Linked DNA regions of Homo sapiens: regions 1 and 2 are each linked to region 3. The links are contacts of gene promoters, found by promoter capture Hi-C in human tissues and cell types (Jung and others, 2019). All regions are on one chromosome and are shown on one strand. The core of a region is centred on a gene start or on the middle of the fragment in contact, and the rest is flanking DNA. Distances in the headings are between cores, read along the strand shown. Region 1 overlaps EYA2 (EYA transcriptional coactivator and phosphatase 2). Region 2 overlaps EYA2 (EYA transcriptional coactivator and phosphatase 2). Region 3 holds the start of EYA2 (EYA transcriptional coactivator and phosphatase 2).

Evidence for each region. Contacts are between HindIII fragments. The study calls those that stand out against the background at their distance.
Region 1: a fragment that was not itself captured here is called in contact with the fragment with the promoter of EYA2 in region 3 in 3 of the 25 tissues and cell types used here (IMR-90 fibroblasts, liver and stomach).
Region 2: a contact is called between a fragment that was not itself captured here and the fragment with the promoter of EYA2 in region 3, in 2 of the 25 tissues and cell types used here (H1 embryonic stem cells and bladder).

Annotation. Positions count from the first base shown.
Region 1 is chr20:46,999,701-47,003,508 of GRCh38, forward strand. EYA2 (EYA transcriptional coactivator and phosphatase 2) reads left to right here. Exons shown (of 16, transcript NM_005244.5): 3 at 1,728-1,773. Among named protein-coding and RNA genes, the nearest start is that of EYA2-AS1, 100 kb to the left of the region's middle. The HindIII fragment of the contact is 6,946 bases long and covers 1-3,808 here.
Region 2 is chr20:46,978,563-46,982,589 of GRCh38, forward strand. All of the region lies in intron 1 of EYA2 (EYA transcriptional coactivator and phosphatase 2), which reads left to right. Among named protein-coding and RNA genes, the nearest start is that of EYA2-AS1, 79 kb to the left of the region's middle. The HindIII fragment of the contact is 7,567 bases long and covers 1-4,027 here.
Region 3 is chr20:46,892,641-46,896,870 of GRCh38, forward strand. It overlaps EYA2 (EYA transcriptional coactivator and phosphatase 2), which reads left to right and starts at 2,203. Exons shown (of 16, transcript NM_005244.5): 1 at 2,203-2,347. The HindIII fragment of the contact is 22,949 bases long and covers 1-4,230 here.

The DNA of each region.
Region 1 (3,808 bases), core at 319-2,818, 110 kb after region 3:
CTTGAACAGAATTTGGCTCAGCCAGGGGGAGGGCATTAAGAGTGTTGACCTTGGACTCACACAGCTTTTGGGTTCAAGTCCCAGTTCCCTTGCCCACGGTTGTGTGACTTGAACAAGGCACTTGACCTTCGGAGCCCCGGTTTCTTCATCTGTACAACGGGGTTAATGGCATCGCGTGCTCAGAGCGCTGTTGTGAGGACTCAATGAGAGCCTGTCTATAAGCAGTTAACAAGGGCCTGGCACATAGTCAACCTCTAAGTGAATGCCAGCTGCTCTTATGACAATGACTGTCATCGTCAGCTGTAGTGTCATGGTTGAGAAGACAGACTCTGGAGCCAGACCACCTGGGTTCAGATCACAGATCCACACCGTACTTCCTGTGTGGCCCTGGGTGAGTTACTTAAGCTCTCTGTGCCTACAGCTGTTCATCTGAGGATGAGAATAGAACCTTTCTCACAGGGTACTTATGAGGATTAAAATAATTAATCCAGGTAAAGAATTTAGAAGAGAGCTTGGCACGTAATAAGCACTGGGTAAATGATGGCTATCAGCATCATCTCATTTAATCCTTTCCTGTCCTTGCAAGATAAGTATTTTCATCCTCATTGCACAGGGGGGAGCCCTGAGGCCCAGAGATCTAGGAACTTGCCTGAAGTCTCATAACTAGGAAGTGGCAGAGTTGCAAGTGCACGTTGGTCTCCTGAGCCTCCAGCGCAGAGGCTGAGGCAGGCTCAGAGCTCCACAGCCTTAGGTTGTGATGATGACGCAGCCACTGCCCTACAGAACAGGGAGTGGGCATTGGCAGGTTGACGCTGTTCCCATCAGTAGACACATTATCTAGAATTTGTCCAGGACTCTGCAGTGAGGACATTGAGTTGCATTGTTCAAGATGACGGAGCACAAAAGTACTTCCCAGTGAACTGTCCCTATGTAAAATTATCCCCGGGCAAACGTCTCTCCCAGCTTAACTCTGTCACCTTTTCGTCACCCCCTGCATATCGCCTCCCATCAATGATTGGACATTGTGTGCTGAGTGATTGGGTGTTAGGTACTTGCATCAGGAGCCCAGGTGTCATCCATCTCTCTGCTCCACCACCCTAGATGGAGCTTAGGAGATGATCGAAGTGGTTCCTTCCCCTAAAGTGTTGGGGCCAGCTGCACCTGCACTCCATGGACTGGAAGTGAGGAGGCAGGGGAGGAACATCAAAGCCATGTCATTAGAAGAAGGGAAATGGAGGTTGGATGAGCAAAGCCAGCCTGTGTCTGCCATTCTGGGGTTCTTGGGGATTGCTTTTGAGGCAGGGAAGGGAGCGGTTTTCCATCCAGGAGTGGAAATGGCACCAGCTTGATTCACTTCCTAGTTGTGCTGCTGCCTGGTCATGTGACTTGGCTCAAGCACATTCTTTCTGTCTCTTTGGCCTCAGTTTCTCCATCTGTACAATGGATGGAGAAATGGACTCTACTCTGATGTTTCAAGGTGCTATGGATTCTTTAGATGTCATTTTTCCTTAACTGCACAGAGACGAAGTGCACCCAGAAAGGGCTCCGAACTCCTCAAGAAGAAGAGTGCTGAGATGTGGCGCCTCAGATAAGCATCTGTGGTGGAGAAAGCCGCGGGCAGCACCCCTCCAAGTCTGCTCCTGCTTAAGTGGTGTCTGAAGTCACCACCTCTGCAGAACATCACCCTAATCGCTAAAACTCTTCCAATTTTTCTTTTTCTCCTGCAGGCATCACCAAATCGGCCCCCCTGAGAGTGTCCCAGCTCTTCTCCAGGTGAGTGCCATTCACTTGTCTCCTGCTCACATGCCCACCTTTTCTTCTTTCTTGGAAGGTAGAGGTTAAGAGAGAGGGCCCTGGAGCCAGATTCCCTGGATAGGAATCCCAGCCGTAGCACTTCCTAGCTGAGTGAGCTTGAGCAAGTCACTCCACCTCCCTGGGCCTGAGCCCTCCCATCTGGGAGCGGGGGACAGTCATGCTGCCTGCCCCCACGAAACCAGCAAAAGCAGGTAAAACACACTTAGAATGGGGCCTGGAGCAGAGTGTCCTCAGAGTCTTAGCTATTATTTTCTTCTTTCTTCTCTTCATTCTTTTTTTTTTTTTTATTCTTTTCTTTCTCCCCTTCCTCTGCTTTCCCATGCATAGGGAATTTCTTAATTTTTCCCTCCCTTTTTGCCACTGTCTTTCTTTCTCCTTTCCTCATTCCTTTCCTTTCCCTTCTTTTCAATCTCCCTTCTATTTTTTTTTTCTCCGAGACAGAGTCTTGCTCTGTCACCCAGGCTGGAGTGCAGTGGCGTGATCTCAGCTCACTGCAACCTCTGCCTCCCAGGTTCAAGTAATTCTGCCTCAGCCTCCCAAGTAGCTGGGATTACAGGCTCCCTTCTTTCTATCCTTATTTTTCTCTCCCTTTTTCTCTTTCCCTTCCTCTCTTCCCTCCCCTTTCGTCCCCCATCCTTTTCTCTCCACCTCTCTCTCCCTTTTCCCCTCCCTCCTTTCATCATTTCTTTACTTTATTTTAAGTTCCAGTATACACATGCAGAACATGCAGGTTTGTTACATAGGTAAACATGTGCCATGGTGGTTTGCTGCACCTGTCAACCCATCACCTAGGTATTAAATTCGACATGCATTAGCTATTCTTCCTGATGCTCTCCCTCTCCCCTACCCTTCCCTAACAGGCCACAGTGTGTGTTGTACCCCTCCCTGTGTCCATGTGTTCTCATTGTTCAGCTCTCACTTGTAAGTGAGAACATGCAGTGTTTGGTTTTCTGTTCCTGCATTAGTTTGCTGAGGATAAGGGTTTCCAGCTTCATCTGTATCCCTGCAAAGGACATGATCTTGTTCCTTTTTATGGCTGCATAGTATTCTATGGTGTATCTGTACCACAATTTCTTTACCCAGTCTATCATTGATGGGCATTTGGGATGATTCCATGTCTTGGCTGTTGTAAATTGTGCTGCAATGAACATATGCGTGCATGCATCCTTTCTTCCTCCTCTACCATTCACACATCACTCCTCAGTACCTAACCCCACACTGAGCCCTAGAAACTCAGAGATGGATGAGATGCAGTCTCTGCCCCCGGAGAGCTAGTCCATATTGATGGATGAGACACCTTCCAGGACTGGGGCTGACATCTCCAGCTCAAATGAGTTTCTTATGCATTTTGCAGCAGGTTCCCCCAAATAACCCTTTATCGTGGCAGTAGTCTAAAAGAAAGAAGGGCATAGGGACATCTGTTTATAATTCCATAAACTTTTGCATTCACCTGCTGTGAGGCCTCAGGTGGAAGAGGAACTCTGGAAGCAAACAGGCTTTAGCAAAAGTGATGTAACCAAAATGGAATCAGATACAGATTGGGGAATCTCATCAACATTTACCTGTACGCTTAACCCAGTTGTGACAGTTAGAAACATGATAGTTGTGGTGTCTGGGGGAGGGTGGCATAGTGGAGGGGTTGAGGGTGTGGCCTCTGGAGCCAGGGTTCAAATTCTCTATCTGCTGTATGCTTGTGGCGTGTTATTAAGTCTCTCTCTGCCTCTGTTTTCTTACCTGTAAAATGGGGATAGAAACAAAAATTACCTCCAAGGCTTATCACAGTTGTGGTGGAGTTTAAATGAGCCAATTCACATGAAGTAAATAGGACAGTGCCTGGCACGTAGGCATGAGAATTGACTACCTTTACCACTAAGGGAAGTGGCCCTTGTAGGCATTGTTGCAGACAGGATGTGATTCGGTCTCAAGAGGTGGCTGCTGCTCAAATCCAGCTGATAGCACCACACAGGCGTGCAGACCCAGGTACGCTGAAGCA
Region 2 (4,027 bases), core at 255-2,754, 85 kb after region 3:
AAGGCTGTGTTCGGAACTCTTTGCTTTATCTTAAGAGCAATGGAAAGCCGTCAGAGGTTATAAGCAAGGATGAGGTGAGGCGGGCAGGTTCAGATTTATGCTGTCATTTGCTGCACAGAGAACAAACTGGAGGGAGGCCCCGGTGGCCCCAGGGAGGTGGGCAGGGGGGCTGCCGTGGTCTTCCTGGGCAGAGAGGATGGTGGCTTGGACCTGGGCGATGGCCATGGAGGTGAACTTTATAAGGCCTGGAGATGGATTGGACGTGAGCATTGAAGGAGAGGGAGAAGTAAGAGCAATCCTGAGCTTTTGGTTTGAGCAACTGCCCCCGAAATGGGGGAAGCCAAGATGGTTTGTGATTCACAGATGTATTTTGAATGGAAATTGAATGAGGCTGGTGGAGGCTGTCAGAGACGTCCAGGTTTGGGCCACAGCTGCTGTCTGTCCAGAAGCCTGTGATTGAAGTCAGCAGGCTTTGATTTCTCAGCCCGTGAAGGATGCTGGGAGTGACCCTCTCCAAAGTCCCCTTAGCCGACTGGCCATCTGTCCTCTGCATCTGACAGACAGGGCCACCATCCTCAGCCAAGGTAGCTGGTGTACTCACGGGGGTGTGGAAAGGTGAGCGGCCCACCCGCCTGGGACCCTCCATCTGCTTTTGATCCCTCCCAGCCTTTGAAGCTGCCCCTGCCCCCACCCTCCAGCTGTCATCTCTCGGGCTCCCCCACTTCTTCCCAGTCCCCAGGGACAGGGGTGGTGACAAGGGTAACAAATGGCACAAGCCGCAGGCAGCAGCAGGCCAAGGGGGCCAGAGGGAGGGTGTTCCTGAATGCCTCTTTCTTCCCGCTCCTTCAGGCTGTCTTCTGAAGTAGCCAGGCTATCAGGGTTTTGCAACAATGCAACAAAGAAAGAATTTTTTTTTTTTGTAAATGAATTCCATGCTTTTCCTTCCTTTCCCTTCCCTGCCTTCGTGAAAGGGAAGCTAAGTCTTTCTCCTACCCCAGATTCCTTGAAGGCTGTCTGAGTTCTCTCTTCCTTCCCCTGCATAGAGAATAAGCTGGTCTCCAATTTCAGGTAATTGTGAGGTGGGGAAGAGTGGGGAGAATGTGAAGGAAGCCTTCCCCACCAAAGTGCAGCAGAGCTCAACTCTGCCCCTCAAACCACAATAGGAACCAGTGGTTTCCGGGTGATCCTGATGACAGTTTCCAGTGTCTACCTGGAATGAAACGAATGGTGTGTTTCAAGCCTTTGTCTGTGTGCATGCAAATAATCTCAGCTGCCCTTTGTTGAATACCCACTCACTCGTGCCTTCTCTGACTCATTTTTCTCAGAATAACCTGGCGGGGAGGGTATTATTTTCTCCATCTTATAGAACTGAGGCTCAGATAAGTGAAATAACTTGCCCAAGGTTACACCGCTGATAACGACATAGCTGGGATTTGAACCCCTGGAGCAGATAACACGTCTGGTGCTCTGACTGGGTAGCTTAGTAGACTTTAGAGCTGGATGGGCCCTGAGTTGAAATTGTGATCCAGAGCTATTTGCAAGCTGTGGTTAAGAGCACAGATCTGGAGCCAGATCACCTGGTTGAGAATCCTGACTCTACCACTGACTAGCCAGGTCAGTCTCTGAACCTGTCTCCTTATCTCTACCTACTTCATAGGATGAAACGAGCCAGTGCATGCAGAGAGATTTAAGCCTCAGCGTAAATGCTCTGTAACTGTGAGCTGTTTTTATTTCTAGTATCTGTAAACTAAGCAATATAATTAGGGCCAGGTTAAGACCTTTAGCAGCCTCAAACACCAGAGACTGGCCTCTCTCCTCCATTGTCTCCTCCAATACAATAATAAAACGGTGTGGTTCGTAAGACAAAAAACTCGCTGTGCTGAAATTTTTTTTACAATTTTGTTTAGTTTTGTTTTTTATTGATACATAATAGATGGACATATTTTCAGGGTGCATGTGACTGTTTGATACGTTCATATAATGTATACAGATCAAATCAGCATAATTGGGATTTCATCCCCTTAGATATGTATCTTTTCTTTATGTTAGCATCATTCAAATTACTCTATACTCTGGCTATTTTGAATGTGTGATAAACTATTGTTAATTATAGTCACCGTACTGTTCTATTGAACACTAGCTCTTATTCCTTCTAACTGTATATTTGTACCCATTAATCAACCTCTCTTCATCCTCCCCACCACCCTTCCTGGCCTTCAGTAATCACAGTCTACTCTCTATCTTCATGAGATCTACTTTTTTAGCTCCCACATGTGATTGAGAACATGCCATATTTGTCTTTCTGTCCTTGGCTTGTTTCACTTAACATAACGACCTCCAGTTCCATCCATGTTGCTGCAAATGACAGGATTTCATTGTTTTTTATGGCTGAATAATATTCTAGTGTATATGCATACCACATTTTCTTTATCCATCCATCAATTGGTGGAGTGCGCTGACATTTGAAAAGCTTCTTTTTAGATCCTCATGGCAGAACAGGATAAGTTCACCAAACAGGAATGATTTCACGTTTTCTTGGTGTCTAGACTTTGCTCAGACTTAAATCTGTGTTTAGTCGGCCTTTGAGGAAATACAGGACAGATCCTTCTATCTCCCAGCGTGGTTGAGAGAATTAAAAGAGATCATGTAAATGTGATCAGGAAAATTGCCTGGTGTATAATAGGTGCTTGGGAAATGAGAACCATGACTAGAATTTTTGGAAGGGTTTTACTAACTCTGGAAACTGAGTTGCCTTGAGTTGCTTGTTCACATTCCTATACTCTGTGGCTAATAGTTTGCTTCTGCAAGTCACCAGTGCCTGTAGCTGTAGCTGACAGCAGGAAAGAACAATTGTCAGGTTCTCAAGTCAGGGTCATGTTTACTTTGTGAAGATTAATATTTCTGTAGCTTTGGCTTTATTAGTGCTGTTCATTTATTTGCCTCCAAAGGATGGTGTGTTTTGATTGCTATAGGTATTTTAATTGCTATAGGTATTTTAGATTTTGCAGATCTAATTCTAGGTCTAACAGAGCCCTAGAATCAGTCAAGTCCCTTTCTTCATGCACATTAATTTTGGAAAAAATAAACTTTTAAATTATCATATATTGGTGGATTATTTTATCATTATTGTATGTCCCTGTAAATCTCTAATAATGGTTTTTATTTTAAAATCTATTTGGGGTATTGTGTTGTATTCATATTATTGAATCCTTGCTTTGAATCTTGGTATGTCTTTATATTTAAAAGGGGTCTCTTGTAATAAGCATGTAGTTAGGTTTTTAAAGTCAGTCTGGTGATCTTTGTCTTTCAAGTGTTGTATTTATTCTGTTTGCATTTACTGTAACTAATGTAATATAAACATACATGAAATGTTTACATTTATTATTATTCTTTAAGTGGTTATCCTAAATATTATAGGATACATTCTTGATATATCTAAAAGTTTACTATAAATTAGTACTTTTACCATTTCCAAGAAAATGCAAGGTCCTTAAAACATGTTAATTGTATTTATCTATCCTCCTGCTCACATATTTACCCTTTTATGTTGTTCTTTATCTTTGCTGAATTTTCGTGTTTCCAGAATATTCTTTTTTAGTGCAGGTTTACTGATGGGAAACAATCTTAATTTTGGTTTGTTTCATTTTGATTTTGTCTTCATTTTGAAGTATTTTTTTGCTGGCATAGAATTCCACAGTGGCAGATGAAATTCCATTGTTTTGTGGTTTCCATCAATTCTGCTGAGAAGCTGCTTCTCAGTCTTATTATACCTTCTTTAAAGATTGTCTTTTATTCCCCCTCTGACTGCTTTTAAGATTAATTTGTGCACATGTGCAGTTTAACCATCACATACCCAGGAATGCTTTTCTCTGTATTTATCTTTGGGATTCACAGAACTTCTTGATTCCATGACTTGATATCTGTCATCCATCTGGCAAGGTCTTCTGTCAGTTTCTCTTTAAATATTGTTTCTGACTTGCTCTCTCTCTCCTCTCCTTCTGTGGCTCCTATTACATGTGTGCTAGAT
Region 3 (4,230 bases), core at 953-3,452:
TGCTCAATTTATAATGACTTGGAGCACTTAGCAAAGATACTATGGGAAGTGAAGCTGTGTGTACAGTAATAATATTTGTTGAGCAATTGCTAGTGCCAGCTGCAGTCATAGTAGAAAGTGTTTTATGAGCATGAGCTCCATGAATTTTCACAATAATAGTATAAGATGAGTACTGTTATTTTCACTTTAGTGATGAGAAAATCAAGGCCAAGTACATATGTACATTCTGCCTCTAGAAGACAGAAGCAGAGCCATCTCCAAGCCTACTGCGGCAGGCCCAGAGAAGAGAACAACCATGTTTACTGAATACATTTGCTTCTGTCTGAAGTTTGGGGAGTAGAAAGCGGAGTAAGCTATGACCAGAGGTGGGTCTGGGAATGGTGAGGCCTGATACATGTATAATTTGCAGCCCCTATTCAAGAAAAAGAGTACAAAATTATGAGTCCAAGATTAGATAAGAAAATGATTATTTCTTTAAATTAAGAAAAGAAATCACAACAAATTCAAATTTTAAGAAGCTGAAAATTACCACAAACATCACAAAATTCCCAACTCAACTTTCCTCCAAAATGCCAGCAGCCACCTGACACCACCCTACTCAAGGGCAAGTTGGGGGTGGGGAATCGGAGTGGAAAGACAGCGGTGTCTACGGCCTGCAGCCAAATGTCCAAAGCAAAGGACTTTTGTAAACTTTACATCAACAAGCCACCATCTGAACACTTTTCTAAGTCCCCTTAGAAAGGGGTCCAAGCAAGTCAGGGGCCCAAGAACTTAACCTTCATCAGCTCCTGTAAACTTACAACTGGAATTGAAGACTGTTACGGCTCAAGAGCAACGGCTTTGGAGTCAGCCAGGCCTGAATTTCATTCCTGGCTCAGCCACTTTCTGCCTTCTTTGAGCTTGGACCTGCTCATTTGTGAAATGAGTGTGCTGACAGCAGCTACCTTGGGGTCTCTCTTGGGGATTACATGAGATAAGGAAGAGTTGGGCATTGGATGAGCTTAAGGTTGCAAATAAAAATATAGGACCCCCGGTTACATTGGAATTTCGGAGACAAAAGAAATACTTTTTAAATATAAGTACGTACAACCAATCGCATAAGACATATACTGCAACTGATTCCTCGTTTCTCTGAAATTCAAATTCACCTGGGTGCCCTGTCTTTTACTGCACTTAAGAAATGACAGTGGTTGATATTGCTTTTGGATTGAAGCATCCTGGGTGTCCCACGGTGGAATTCATAGACATTAGAGAGTGGGTGACGGGCTAGGAAAGGCTGCATAGACTCCAATTAACACAGTTCATTGCCAGGGAGACTAAAAGGGGGGTGGCTATGAGAGGATGGAGTAAGTGGGGTGCCTTGATTTGGGCATGTAGGTGGAGGGGGCTATACCTCTCACTTTCACTAAACCAGTTAAGCTCTTGAGACCTCAGTTTCCTTAGCTGTAAAATGGGTGAAACATAGGGGAGACCCCTGAACCGTTCTCACCTAAATACCACACCAATGGCACTTCCTCATAATTCAGATGTCACCTCCTCAGAGAGGTCTTCCCTGACTGCTCTAGCTAAAATTACCGCCTCTCCTCCACTCCCCAACAGCAGATACATATATTATTTTTCTCCCTGTAACTCTAACTTTCTGAAACTGTCTTGCTTCTTTACTTGGTTATTTGTTTATGGTTTGCCTCTCCATGTGAATGCAAGTTCCGGGAGGGCAGAAAACTAGTCTGTCTTGTTCTAGCTGAGTCTCTCAGGAGTGGTACCTGGCACAGTAGATGCTCAATATATTTTGAATGAATGAATGGGTGGTTGAGTGAACGAATGTTAGTGTCACTATTGAGGTCCTCTCCGAGCCGTCGTTCCTTTCACAGGGGTCATGCCTGGGTTGCAGGGAGGATGTGCTGCCCCGGGGAGGGAGGAGGTGCGGGGTGTCGGTGGGTGGGGAGGAGGCTGGGCCCTGGCCTCCAGGACCGGCGAGAGTGAGCGCGCTCTGCTCGGCTGCAGGCTCAGGAAGCGGCGCGGCGGCACGTGCTGGGCCAGAGCCCCGCGCCCTGCGTCCAGCCGCCGGGTGTGTGCGCCCGCGTAGCCCAGCGTCGCGCCTCGGCGCCCCCACGCGCCCACGCAGCGGCGCGGGGACCCGGGCGGGGGCAGAGGGAGGGCCCGGCCCAGGGAGGAGAAGGGGCCGGTCCTCCCGGCGCAGGCAGCAGCCGCGGCAGCCCAGGAGGCGGAGGCAGCGGCAACGGCAGAGACAGCAACGTGCCCGCCGCAGTCAGCCCGGCCTCGTCGGACCCGCACCGGCCCGCCCGCCCGCCCGCACCGCGTCGGGGCGCCCTCTCCACTGCGCGCGGTGAGTACCGCCAGCGGCGCCCACCCCAGGCCGCCCGCCGGGATTCGCCGGGCGGGGGGAGTTGTTCACCGGGACCCCCTCGCCCTGCGCCTCTTTCTGGCACTCGCCAAGCGGGGCCTCCGCAGCTGTCGGGACGTTCTGGGGCGCACGGGCCTCCCAGGGCCAGGAAGGCACAAGGGCAGAGGGGACAGCAGCAGAGCCCCCCTCTGGAAAGGCTCTCCCAGGCTCGGGGCCCCAGTTTCCCCATGCGCTTTGGGGCAACGACCCTGAAGTTTGCTCTCCCGCGCGCGGGACAAGTGCATGGCGCGCAGGCGGTGTAGACGCGGCTGGGTCCTTGGCGTTTTGTTCGATTATGGTCCCGGCGGTTCGCGATAAGGGGCGCTCCCCCAGTCCGCAAACTCAAGCCCTCAGGTAGTGTTTATGGGATAACCAAGAAGCAGAGCCAACCGCTGGAATCCCGGCTTGGGGCTGGAACGGCCCGCTGAGACTTTGCCTTCTAGCTATTGATATATTTCTTTTCAAAAGTCCGTTTGCGCTCGGCCCGCTCTGGTTCAGGTCTGGGGCTTTGAACCGGGGCAGGGAATCCTGGCGCCTGCTGCGGGTAGAGTTGAAACTTAGAAAAGTTTACATCCGAAGGGTGTTTAGAAGGCGGCAAGGATTTCGTTGTAATGGGAGAAAGTGGGAAATGGAATTGTTTTTTAGTCATGAAGTCTGGAGGTTAAACGGCCGTGCTGGCCCAGGCTCCTTCAATATATTCCTGCCTGCCTCCCCCCCAGCAATAAATAGTTTATAAGCTCAAGGAATACTAGGAAAGCGTGACTGGTGAACGTACTCCTATCGCAAAAGACTCAGTGCGCTTTTCTCAGCTGTTGAACTGGAAGCGCCTTTTGCAGTGCGAGGTTCCTGCTTCCCCGAAGCCGAGGCTGAGAGTTGACAGCGTGCACCCTGCCGCGGTCTGAATTCTTTTTAAAAAGCAAGACCGATGCTGCGTTTTTATGGATACCCTTTTCTTTTCTTTCCCCTTCCCCGAAATGCTATGTAATCTTCAATTACTTTTTAAAATATAACGTGGAGGTATAAATCACCCCGGTAAGAGGTACCTTTTAATTACGAGGTGCAGTGGAAGAGCTGAACATTGGAATCTAGCTGTTAGCGAGGGCGGAGGGGCAGGAGGATGATTTACAAACATCATGTAAGAATTTGAGCACTGAATTATGTTTGAGTTAGGGAGATCCCTTACAAAGGAAATTATAACCAGTGGACAATTGTATTTCAAACCGAATCTATTAATTTCATGAGCCGTTTCTTGATTGAGTGAAATGTCTGTGACCATAATAGATACAGAACTAGTAAGCACCTTACCAGACTATGACCCATTTGTTAGCAACTAACATACACATGTAACCATCCTGCTTACAAAAAAAAAAAGAGGTACACAAAGAAAGAGTGGGAGGAGAGAACCTCTTTTTCAAAATAATCTTTGTGAAAGAATCTTTCACAATTTTACTCGATAAATAAATGTTCATTTTTTCCACTTGTCTTTCTTCATCACCTTAAGCCCCTTCATCCTTTACATATCTTTGCATTTAGACACTCTCACACTTGGGTAAGTTCTTCTATAATTTATATAACAAATAACAAATGATAGTGGTTTGAATCTTGCTTTTGACTAAGCATTAAATTGTGTTTGTATTAAAAAAAATCTCCTTGCCTTCGTAGCAAACTCTTAACTTTTGCCATTGTGAAAAGACCAATGTGGTTAGATGCAAAAGAGCCTGAACTTTTTTTTACTTTAAAGCAGTTTATATGTCCCCATTCTCTTGTAACTTCAGCTTCACAATATCATTCACTATTTTATCTGAAAGGAATTGGCATTTTTCTTT